Regions from separate parts of the Homo sapiens genome. Here regions 2 and 3 are each linked to region 1. Evidence: promoter capture Hi-C in 16 types of primary human blood cells and fetal thymus (Javierre and others, 2016). All regions are on one chromosome and are shown on one strand. Each heading gives the region's core, a stretch centred on a gene start or on the middle of the fragment in contact. The rest is flanking DNA. Distances are from core to core; before and after follow the strand shown. Region 1 holds the start of KDM5D (lysine demethylase 5D). Region 2 has its middle 80 kb from the start of EIF1AY. Region 3 overlaps TTTY14 (testis expressed transcript, Y-linked 14).

Evidence for each region. The method cuts DNA at HindIII sites, captures the fragments that hold promoters and counts their contacts. A CHiCAGO score of 5 or more calls a contact.
Region 2: a contact is called between a fragment that was not itself captured here and the fragment with the promoter of KDM5D in region 1, in 1 of 17 cell types (fetal thymus). The highest score is 5.8, in fetal thymus.
Region 3: a contact is called between a fragment that was not itself captured here and the fragment with the promoter of KDM5D in region 1, in 1 of 17 cell types (neutrophils). The highest score is 7.0, in neutrophils.

Annotation. Positions count from the first base shown.
Region 1 is chrY:19,742,853-19,746,722 of GRCh38, forward strand. It overlaps KDM5D (lysine demethylase 5D), which reads right to left and starts at 1,874. Exons shown (of 27, transcript NM_004653.5): 1 at 1,819-1,874; 2 at 1,533-1,701; 3 at 310-387. The coding sequence starts at 1,682. KDM5D-DT (KDM5D divergent transcript) reads left to right here and starts at 1,933. Exons shown (of 3, transcript XR_938630.4): 1 at 1,933-2,861. The HindIII fragment of the contact is 5,320 bases long and covers 1,251-3,870 here.
Region 2 is chrY:20,653,603-20,657,472 of GRCh38, forward strand. No RefSeq gene overlaps it. Among named protein-coding and RNA genes, the nearest start is that of EIF1AY, 80 kb to the left of the region's middle. The HindIII fragment of the contact is 1,047 bases long and covers 1,390-2,436 here.
Region 3 is chrY:19,073,069-19,076,938 of GRCh38, forward strand. All of the region lies in intron 1 of TTTY14 (testis expressed transcript, Y-linked 14), which reads right to left. Among named protein-coding and RNA genes, the nearest start is that of TTTY14, 2.5 kb to the right of the region's middle. The HindIII fragment of the contact is 8,631 bases long and covers 1-3,870 here.

The sequences.
Region 1 (3,870 bases), core at 624-3,123:
TGAGTACGAGAAGACAAAATGGGAAAGGTACTGTCATTTTGATAGTTCTAACCTGAAACTATTGAACAGCGAAACAATGCATCATTCTTCCTCAGATATTTAAAGCCTTTGTGTTCTACCATTTTTGTGGACATAAATTATGTATTTTATAGAAGACTTTCTCCAAAATCAGTATTCTGGAAAATGGTGGAGTTCGGGTTCAAATTCAATACATTAGATTTCAAAACTTAAGTTCTACATTATTATGAAACTACAACGGCAAGATTAAAGATCAGATTCCTTTAAAAAAAGTGTGCCTCCCAATCTTACCTCCAGTTCATTTAGCCTTTGGACGCGAGGAGTAAATCTGAAATTGTCAACTTCTACTGCAAAAGGAGGCTGCCAATCCTAGAAGAAAGTGTAAGGACCTGGTAACTATGGCACAGTAAAGGATGAAGATAGTGAAAACCACAATCATTTGTTCCCACTCTTTTAAAGTCTTCTGGTAACCATTTTTGTACACAAGGGCCTCAAATGATTCCTTCTTCATAATCAAGATTAACTGCAAAAAAAAAAAAAAAAGGAAAAACCCTGCAAATCCAAAACTCTCCTTGATATGTGTCCTTCGTAACAGACGAAAAAAAAAAAAAAAACCTCTATAATCCCAAGGCTAGAAAGCGACTCGACTTCCAAGGAATGACGCACATCTGAACAAACACTATGCTATTTGGGTTATGAGTCCTTACTAAAATGAAGATAAATGTAATGCAGATAAAAAATTGTTTCACTTTTTAAAACCTAAGCCATTATCTCTTCCCACTCCCAGCAGTACGAAAAAGTTTAATTGCAAATGCTGAGAAGTGCGAACATCCACATAAAAATAACGTTGCAGCCTGGTTCAATATATGAGAAAAAAGCTGTATGCTCTGCGAAAACTTTTTGACTTCTCTGAATATTGTGTTAGTTGTTCACGACGACAGCCCAGGCTTATTTCAGTTTACATTCTTAATTCAGTCAAACTTCTACGAGGTTCATTTAGTAGTTTTCAGTATAGCAACCCAAAATGGTCTACGTTTAATAATAAATTTAATTGATGGCAAAGGATGCCACATCACTCCCATTATTTGCTATATTTGCTACATACATCTAAGGTCATATCAAAGAAAGAAAACACCAGTCCAAGTGGTTAACACACAAGCTTATATAACTTGCTTCTGTCATAGATCAAGTACTTCTGAGTAAGCTATTTTTTTGCGGTTAAATGTAATAAAAGCTTGTGTATGCCTAAACTATATTTAATAACAGCAGAACGTAGAAATATTTGAATCTTATATTTTTGTCCCTACAGCAGTCAGATGTTTAGAACCCCGTGGAATGTGGCGATCTGATACTAATATTCTGATGCCAGCTTGTTCGGGTCAGAAAAGTTAAATGAGAAATTTGGTGCTAAGGGTTTCTGGTCATGAGTGTAAATAACGCCTCGCCAAGTGGTAAACTGCCCCAACGTTCAAACCAAAGGCTACCCATTCCCAAATTTTGTTTCAAAGACTTACCGCGGGTGGGCGGATTTTGCAGATGCCAGACTTCTCTGCTATGGGCCTTATTTTCGCAATGTAGCCAAGCGGGTCTTGGAATTCAGCCCAGCTAGGCTCAAAAACCGGGCACTCCGGTGGCGGCAGGAACTCGTCACACCCCGGTTCCATGTCGGGCCTTAATGCTAAGCTGTAAAATAAGAATCACATTGTCTTTAATGACGCGCTGGTTCCTCCTACTAAAAGGCCTATGAAAATTTCATTTTCTTGAGAATTTCAAGGTTACTTTAATCCCGTAGCTGCTTACCAATCGTCAGGGATCCTAGTTTTACAGCCACCATCTTGACCTCCGGGCCCTGCAGTGTGGTACGAGCCGTCTCACTCCGCGGATCGATTTTTCCGGCGCTATTTCCAAACCTGTGAGACCTTCCGCACCTGAGATAAACGCTGAGGACGCAAGAGCGATTTTACCAGAGGAAAACAGTCACAGAGCCGTCGCTGGACTCATATTAAACAGTACTGCGACAGAACGAAAAAGCAAGATAAAAATAGTATGGCCGGATCTTTTTTAAAATGGGACCACTGCGCAAGTTACGCCTGCGTATTGCAGGGAAGGACCGTAAAAGGCTGTGGTGCTGATCAACGAAGGATTTCTCGGAGAAAATTCCTCCTTTGCGGAAATGTCCGTAGAAACGCACCTTTTTTTTTTCCTGCCAGGACAAACCGCCGGCGATATCCGTTCATGTGAAAGTGTTTACTAACATTCTCTGAAGACTCACTGGGTTCTCAGCTCGAGAACGTTCCTGTCACAAGACGTTTAGGAGGCAGGATGCCGGTACAATGTATTTATGTTCTTGTAAACTGTTGCATTAACAGTGCACTTCAAGTGGGCACATTTGTCGTTGGATTTTTTACCAACTCGAGCTTGGACTTTAGGACGGGGAAAAGAAGTGCTAAATGTTTTTGAATAAAACCTTTACTGCACATGATAAACATCCCTTAAAAATTACCTAGGAGCACCCTAAATTTTAAAATGATCACAAAGACCTGGACAGATTACAGTAAACCTTCAACATCGCTAAACACACGTACCATAAATCAAAAGAAACACACTGCTAATGATCCGTTTTTTGATGTGGAAATATCATGCTGTTTTTAAGGGAAATTATACTTTATTGCGATGTTTTATTTCAAAACAAGATGTTACACTTTATTTCCTATAATTTTATTTACAATATTTTACACCCGTTAAGCAAAAATCCCCCTACATTGCTATTCTGTTTTTTTTTAATCAGTTCACTACTGTAGTATCTTTTTGTTCTCCATATATTTTTGAAAAATACGCAAAAGGTAAGTTTTAAAAATCAAATGGTAGATTTTATTTGGAAGGGCACTGCCAGAAGTGCCTTAAAGTTTGATAGTTTGACAATTGTTTCGTATTGTACGATTCTTGGCATTTCCGTTTTTTTTTTTAACAATTTATCCATTTCATCTAGATTATCGGCTTCATGAGTTTATTATACTACATTACATATATATTCCTGTTTCAAAAGTTGTTACTTAATTTTCTGCTTTCTTTTTCCTAGTTTTATCTACATACTTTTTCTGTTTCATAAAGTTAGAGTTATAGAGTTCTATTTCATAAAATTAGTTATAGAGCCTGTATTATTTCAAATGATGAGATCTTTTTTCTCTGTTCAAGATAATTCATTATAATACAGCTTTATATTTTATGAATTCATTAGTAAATAGATATTTCAATTTCTACTTTTAGCTATTATAATGTTGCTATTAGCATTTGTGTACCGGTTTTTGTGTGCATGCTTAGTGTCATTTCTCGTGTGTATACACCTACAAGTAGAATTAGTGGGTTATATGGGAACTTTAGGTTTAAACTTTTCTTTTCCAAAGCATCTTCATCATTTAATTTCCATCTAAAGTGGAATACCGTTCTAGTTTCTTCATGTCCTCACCAATACTATAATTACATGACTTACTGATTTGACCATTACAATGTGTATGAGATCTCATAGAGTTTTGAGTTGGACTTCTTGAATTACTAATGATACAGTAGTGTTGAGCATCTTTTCGTAAGGTTGTTGGCTTGTTCATATGCTTTATATACCTTCTCTGGAGAAATGTCTATTCAAAATTTTTGGCTCTTTTCACATTGGTTTGTCTTTTTTTGTTTAGTTGTAATCTTATCTGATTCTTTTATCAAATATTTGATTTTTATAAAAAATAATTCTGTAAGCTGGCTTTTCTCTTTCCTAATAGTAAACTTTGAACAGAAAGATTTTTAATTTGATCTTTATCCAGTTTGCTTTTTTCTATTGTCACTTGTACTTTCAGTGTTGCC
Region 2 (3,870 bases), core at 663-3,162, 910 kb after region 1:
AGAAATCCTCAAAGCTGTTTTTTTTTTTTTTTTTTTTAAAAAAGAGTCATATTTGCATAGAAAATTTACATTAATGCAGCCAGACTTAGAAATACTGAGTGACAAATTTAAAAAGCTGGAAAAAAAAATGTACTATTCTATCTGAGGACTGCCTTCTATGAGATTTAATCTATATAACAAGATAAAGTTTGCTAGCTAGGCCTTCTCTTCTCCTCTTTCTATAACTTAAGCATCTTTAGTTCTAGTTGCAATTTGACATAATTTTTTGGATTATAGTTTGCTCACTGTAACTTGTTTTTTCATGCTTCAAGCATCCATTTTTTCCTCTAAGCTCAATTAGTATAAAAGCATTAAAGATCTGGCTGTTTATTTGAATTTTTATGTTTTATATAATGCTCATACATGTTAATAAATTTATATACCCATTTATTTTTCAAAATGGCAGACAGGAGGTAGTGTTAGCATGCCTTTCACCCTTGAAAGAAAAAATAGAGGGTAGAAATTCACACTATGAATTGTTTTTTTCAAGTACCACTTTGAATCTTAATAGGAAAACTGAAAGAATCCACACAACCTTTAAAAGAAGTGGCGGCCGGGCGCGGTGGCTCACGCCTGTAATCCCAGCACTTTGGGAGGCCGAGGCGGGTGGATCATGAGGTCAGGAGATCGAGACCATCCTGGCTAACAAGGTGAAACCCCGTCTCTACTAAAAATACAAAAAATTAGCCGGGCGTAGTGGCGGGCGCCTGTAGTACCAGCTACTGGGGAGGCTGAGGCAGGAGAATGGCGTGAACCTGGGAAGCGGAGCTTGCAGTGAGCCGAGATTGCGCCACTGCAGTCCGCAGTCCGGCCTGGGCGACAGAGCGAGACTCCGTCTCAAAAAAAAAAAAAAAAAAAAAAAAAAAAAGAAGTGGCAAGCTGATTCCTACTCTATGAAGCAGGTAAAAAAATGTTTCCAGAGTGTTAAAGTTAGAAAGCCTGCATCTGAGCACACAACCCTAGGTAATCTGAACATCCAGATTACAGGAGAAGCCCTTAACCCTACCCAAAGAGATTTAGGGGGCCACATGAAATGTAAAAGTAGAAGCAGCAGCAGAAAGAACCTTGTACGCATTCCTAGTATCCAGCATGAGCTGAGGGAAGTCATCCATGACTACAACTCACAAGGGCCTTCATGAAAGTCAAACAATGAGATCAGGGAGTGTCACAGTGTGGAAGGAGCTCCCAAGTGAATTTTGTAATTCTCTAAATGGGGAGAAACTTCCTCGAACACAACTGGGGACAAGTGTGAGGATACTGTAGACAGGAGCACAGGAGCTGGGCAGCCAGCTTCACATGAAGACATAGAGGGTCATGGAATAGAAATCAAGGTTGTTATCTCTGCAGGGAAGCTTACAAAGTGGGGAAGATCTGAGTTGTGTGTGCAAGCTACCTGGATTTAAACAAGGTGCTGTTAATGGGGCACTGTTCAGGTGAGACCAGCTTTGTCAGGTTTTTGGGACCTGGGTGAGGCTTATAATTTCCTGCTACTCCCCACACCATTTGTGAACTTTACTGCCCAGCAGAGGCAGTTTTACTCCCTTCTGGAATATTACCTAGTGACCTGGATATTTTCTTCTGGAATATTACCTAGTGGAATATTACTTTCTGGAATATTACCTAGTGACCTGATAAACACAGTGGCCACAGCTGGCCCTGCCCAAGGAGAGTGTGAGCTCATACCTAACACTGACCCCACCTAATGGTATTTCTCTACCTACCCTGGTAGCTTAACACAAATAACATAAACTTTTAGGAGTTTTATGACCCCATCTATCACCTGAGAACCCAGAATACTTCTACAGAAAAACAAAGTAAGCACAAATCTTACTGCTACTACCACAGCTGGTGCTCTCTTTTATATGCCATCTCTTGGTGGGAGGCCAAACTGCTTAGGCCATTACAGCATCTCTCAGCAGAAGAGCACTGCTCCTAGGAGTGAGAAAATAGTTATGGGAATCTCAGCTAACACCACTGCCTACAAAAACCTGGCCAATGACAGGTCATAAGTGTGTACATGTTACAAGTTCATTACAATTAAAATCAGCATTCAAGAAAGCCATCACATTAAGTTTATATACAACTAAGGAATCAAATGGTGTATGTCATTCCCCTGCCACCTCTAAGGGAGCAGGCACTGGTATCTACTACTAGGAGACCTGAAGTCAGGTTGCATCACTAGATCCCTTCCAGACATTTCCCAGCACGAGCTTGAAGTTTGGCAGCCCATCTGGGTAGCTAGACTCAGAAGAGCAATAACAATAAATGCAGTGCAGCTCTCAGAAAGTTCCATTCACAGGAGAAGGAAGGATCGTGCACCATATCAAGGGAACACCCAGTGGGACAAAGGAATCTGGGTGGAAGGCCTTCCATCCATTATCTTTCCCACTGGTGGGAAGCTTCTTACAGCAAAGACATAATTGCAGTGCTAGTTAAAGCAGGGAAATTCTGTACCTCTACCCCAACAGGCAGGCAACCTCCGTGATTGTAAAGAGGCTTGGAGAAGAGGTCTGTTCCCACTCCCACCCCCTGCCACACCGTATACCTTTGCAGACAGAGCTGGGGCTTGTCTTATGGGATGCAGCATGAATTAATCTACAGGCAAACTTCCGGGAACAATTCAGGGTAATTGCATCCCCGCAGGAGGAGTGCTTCCCTGATTCAGACCCGCACAACAGGCAGAGTCACAATTTCTGTCTACTTGGAACATAAACGTTCCTATGGATGATAAGAGGTACCTGTTTGATCTGAAAAGCTAAAATATGGGACAGGAATGAGGCTGAGAGGCAGATAACTTTTCTCCTTGTCTGGCAGGGGTGCTAAAGTAGCTCTCCCCTTCACTTTGATAAATCCTCAGCACATCTAATTGAGAGCTCCCACAGCCACCTTCATCAAAGGTTGGAACCTCTACCCAACACTGGGTATTACATCTTCCTAGATCTACCCACATTAGCTACAACCAGTGTCTACCCAGGGTTACCTGCCCTATTGACTGAATCATCAACTCAGTAAATAAAATCCTGGGGGGAAATTAAATAAATAAATGAAATGTACACATTTTAGGGGGAAAATTAAATAAATAAGTGAAATGTATACCACTTGAGAATGAGCTAAGCTTCAAGAGATCCCTGCCATTCCAAAACCATAGAAGCCAGTGAACTCATCCACATACCAAGAACATTACTACTACAACCAGCATCTCAGAAAGCCAGCACAAAAGGACGCTCTATAAGTAAAAAAAACTCATACAGGGTCATCACCACTACAAGCACCAAGAACAAAATTAAGCTAAAATAAACTATAAACATCAAAGTCAGATTATTAGGAATAAGAAAAAATAATCAAGTAAAAAATAAATTCAAGAAAAACTTAAAAAAATAGTTTATCCATGTGAGAAGAAACAAGAAAGGTATTCTAATAATATGACAAAACAGGCTCTATAATTCTCTCCAGAGATTATACCAGCTCCCCAGCAGTAAATCTAAACCAAGATGAAACCTCTGAAATGCCAAAGAATTGAGAAGATTGATTATTATGATACTCGAGAAGATATCAGAGAAAAGTAAAAAACAACCAAAAATTTTAAAAATAGGATATGAATTTTTAAATTTCCAAAGAAATAGCTATAATAAGAAAAAAGGAATCAGAACAATCATAACTTCTCTGGAAATTAAAGACACACAGGGGAATACTAAACACTGTGGAAAGTTTCAATAATAGATAAGAACAAGTAGAGGAAAAGATTTTAGAGCTCAAAGGCAAGACTTTTAACCCAATGAAACAAAGACAAAATAAAAAGAATTCAAAAACTGAACACAGTCTCCAAGAAAT
Region 3 (3,870 bases), core at 881-3,380, 670 kb before region 1:
CCAGGCTGGTCTCGAACTCCTGACCTTGTGATCCACCCACCTCGGGCTTCCAAAGTGCTGGGATTACAGGCATGAGCCACTGCACTAGGCCAGGAGACCCCGTTTCTAAAAAAATAAAAGTAAATTAGCTGGACATGGTGGCACATGCCTGTGGTCCCAGCCACCCAGGAGTCTGAGGTGGGAGGATCGCTTCAGCCCGGGAAGTCAAGGCTGTAGGGAACCATGTTCACGCCACTGCACTCCATAGTGAGCCACACAGTGAGATCCTGTCTCAAAAAAAAAAAAAAAAAAAGGCTTGCTAAATGCTAAAATCAAGTGATATTAAACTAAGACCCAAAGGCTGAGTAACAGTTATCTTGGAGTTGTGATGGAGGCATCTGCATGGGAGACAGCGATAGATATGTCAAAGCCATGCCAAAAACTATGGTACCTGGCTCAACTGAGGAAAGGAAAGGCCAAGGCAGCCAGAATGACGCAGGATCCGACTGGAGGCCTGAGGCGGGGTAAAAGAATGAGGCATGTATTCAGAATTAGGCCACAATCATCATTTGGGATGTTATTAAAAAAAATAACATCTGAAGTTCTGCCTTATACATACATAAAACAATATAAGCTGAATCTGACTCTAGGTTAAGAGATGCCATGAAAAAGGTTTCTCAAACAAATAAAAGCCACTTAATAATAGAACCCCTGGGCCGGATGTAGTGGTTCCTGCCTGTAATCCCAGTAACATGGGAGGCTGAGGTGGGCAGCTCACTTGAGCCCAGGAGTACAAGACCAGCCTGGGCAACATAGAGACCCTGTCTCTATATTACGAAAAGCAAGAGGCAGGAGAATCACTTGAACATGGGAGGCAGAGGTTGCAGCGAGCCGAGGTTGCAGCACTCCAGCTGGGTGACATAATGAGACTCCATCTCAAAAACAAATGAACAAATAATACACAATAAAATAATAGAAACGTCTATCAAAATTAATGAAGTGATCATTAAAGTGGATCATGTTCTAAGGCTAAAATGGCTTCTATGGGGGTCAGGTGCCATGGCTCACGCCTGTAATCCCAGCACTTTGGGAGGCCGAGGCGGGTGGATCACGTGAGGTCAGGAGTTCAAGACCAGCCTGGCCAACACGGTGAAACAAAAATTAGCCAGGCATTGTGGCACATGTCTGTAATCCCAGCTACTCAGGAGGCTGAGGCAGGAGAATCACTTGAACCAGGGAGGTGGAGGTTGGAGTGAGCGGACATTGCACCATTGCATTCCAGCCTGGACAACCAGCGAAACTCCACCTCAAAAAAAAAAAAAAATGCTTTCTAAGGCAATTATTTAGTTGCCTGAGTTCCAAGAGCTGAAGATTGACACCTTCTTTCATATGGTTTTACGATAAAAGCTAGAAAGTTGAATTGCACAGACATTCCATTTAAAATTTAAATTAAAAAAACACACACTGAAAACATTTCAACATTTCAAAACAGTAACTTTTAGTTATTTGAATTCATTCAATTTTTCTATAAAGTTTACCAAACGGGTCACAATTCCTACAGAACACTGACTACACAGCAATTTAAATAAGTTGATACAACATGCTGTTAGATAAGCAATGTATCTTCACCTATTCACTAGCAAATACCTTGCTATTAAATAACACTCATCCACTACACTTACCATTTGACCGATGAAGAGACTTATACAAGGTAATGGACAGACCTAAACACTTATTTTGGCAACCAAATGTAGATTATTTTCTGAACCAGCATTTACTGATACTCTCTCTGTTATTTAATGGATGATGGGCTCATTGCCCATATGCAAAGTAAATTTCCTCTTACATTTGATGAACCATTAATTTTACTATGTAAAACACCAAAGTACCAGTTGCAAAGTAATATTACAGGACTTGCTCAATCACTCTCAAAAGACACTAACAGAACTCTAAGTATTCCACGCAGCCAACATTTAATAAAAGAAATCAAGAGCTCAGAGACGCCAAATAAAATCTCAGGGTCTCTGATTTTGAACTATCCTAGTTATGCCATTAATGGCATTTGCACACAACAAAAATAGTAACTGTTTCAATAGTACTTTTTCCACAAGCAATATCATCTTACATGTTGGCTGAATAAGTCTCATTGCCTCAAAAAGGATCAAAAGATTCTAAGTTTTGCAGTTCAACAATTGTGAACAATTTTATTTCTCATTTCAAGTGTAAAGGATATTGCTCAAATCACCGCATGAAACTCTCTCCTCATGTAAGAAAGCCTGAAATCTGATTTCTCTACCAAAAAAAAAAAAAAAATCCAGTTCTTGCAAATGGATACAAAACTACTCATAACCTGCAAAAACCATGAAACCTAAGCATGTTACATCTTAACTGTTATAAGAAAAATAGTTAAAGCAAAGGGAGCTGTCAGAGAATCTTCATTTTCCCAGTGTCTTCCAAAACTTCTTGGAACTCGTATACAAGAATACCTTTCAAAAACACAACAGAAGCAGAAAACGTCAATCGGGCACCAGGAAAAGAGCAGGCCTAGAGAAAAACCTAGACTCCCCTGCCACCGACCTTCCCAAATGACACAGATACAAGCGTTAACAGCACAATCCCTCTGAGAGGGGATTGAAACAATGTGGCAGGTACGGACACACACACATACACACACACAGGACTGAATCAATGTGGCAGGGACACACACACACAAGACTGAATCCATGTGGCAGGGACACACACACGACTGAATGTGGCAGGGACACACACACACACAGAATCCAAGTGGCAGGGACACACATACACACACTCTCACATCACTCCCCACTCCCTTCCCCAACGCCCTGGATGATGAAATGAGAAACGGAAATTAACATTTCAGGCAACGTCTCACATTGTTCCTTAAGGGCAAGAGCTGCTGTTGAAGCCGCCACCGCCGCCGCTTTCCTCCCAACTCCCTCCTCCGACCTGCCTACCCTCCCCCCTAATAACCCCCACACTGTTGGCCCGCATTCCAGTCCCTACTCGAACCTACGCGCGCCTCCAGCAACCCTGCCTTTCGCCCGCCCCCAGCAACCCTGCCTTTCGCCCGCCCCTTCCGGCTGGGATCCCGGCAGCTGCCTGCTCTCATTCCAGAAGAGCAATAATAATAGGAACGCTGGCCAGGCGCAGTGGCTCACTCCTGTAATACCAGCACTTTGGGAGGCCAAGGTGAGCGGATTACGAGGTCAGGAGATCGAGACCATCCTGGCTAACACGGTAAAACCCCGTCTTTACTAAAAATACCAAAAAAATTTAGCTAGGCATGGTGGGGGCGCCCGTAGTCCTAACTACTCGGGAGACTGAGGCAGGAGAATGGCGTGAACCCGGGAGGCGGAACTTGCAGTGAGCTGAGATCGCGCCATTGCACTGTAGCCTGAGCGACTGAGCAAGACTCCGTCTCAAAAATAAATAAATAAATAAAATAAAAAGAATACTACTACTAATAATAATAGGGACGCTGAGAATAACAACTACGACCAGAACCGAACAGCGAAGGCGCCCCTGTTGTGTGTTAGAAGTCGGCGCCCCCCGAGTTCCGCAGCAGTCAACACCTGCCCAGGGCCCCCCTCGGCAGCCCCTCACAGCAGCCCCCGGGCTCCCAGAACCCCCAGGCGCTCCCGGAAGCCCCCAGTCGGTCCCCCACAGCCCCCTGGGGACCTTCTGCCCCGCCAGCCCCGCCCCGGAGCCCCCCGTCCGCCCCGCACAGCGGCCTCGGGTCCCCCTAACCGTCGCTCCGAGCCCCTCGAGCTCCCAAGCCCGCTTGGAGCCCCCTGTTGGCCCTTCACGACCTCCCCGAGCCCCCAAAGTCCACCGCCCACCCCGATCCCGGCCCTCCAGGCCTGACCCAAG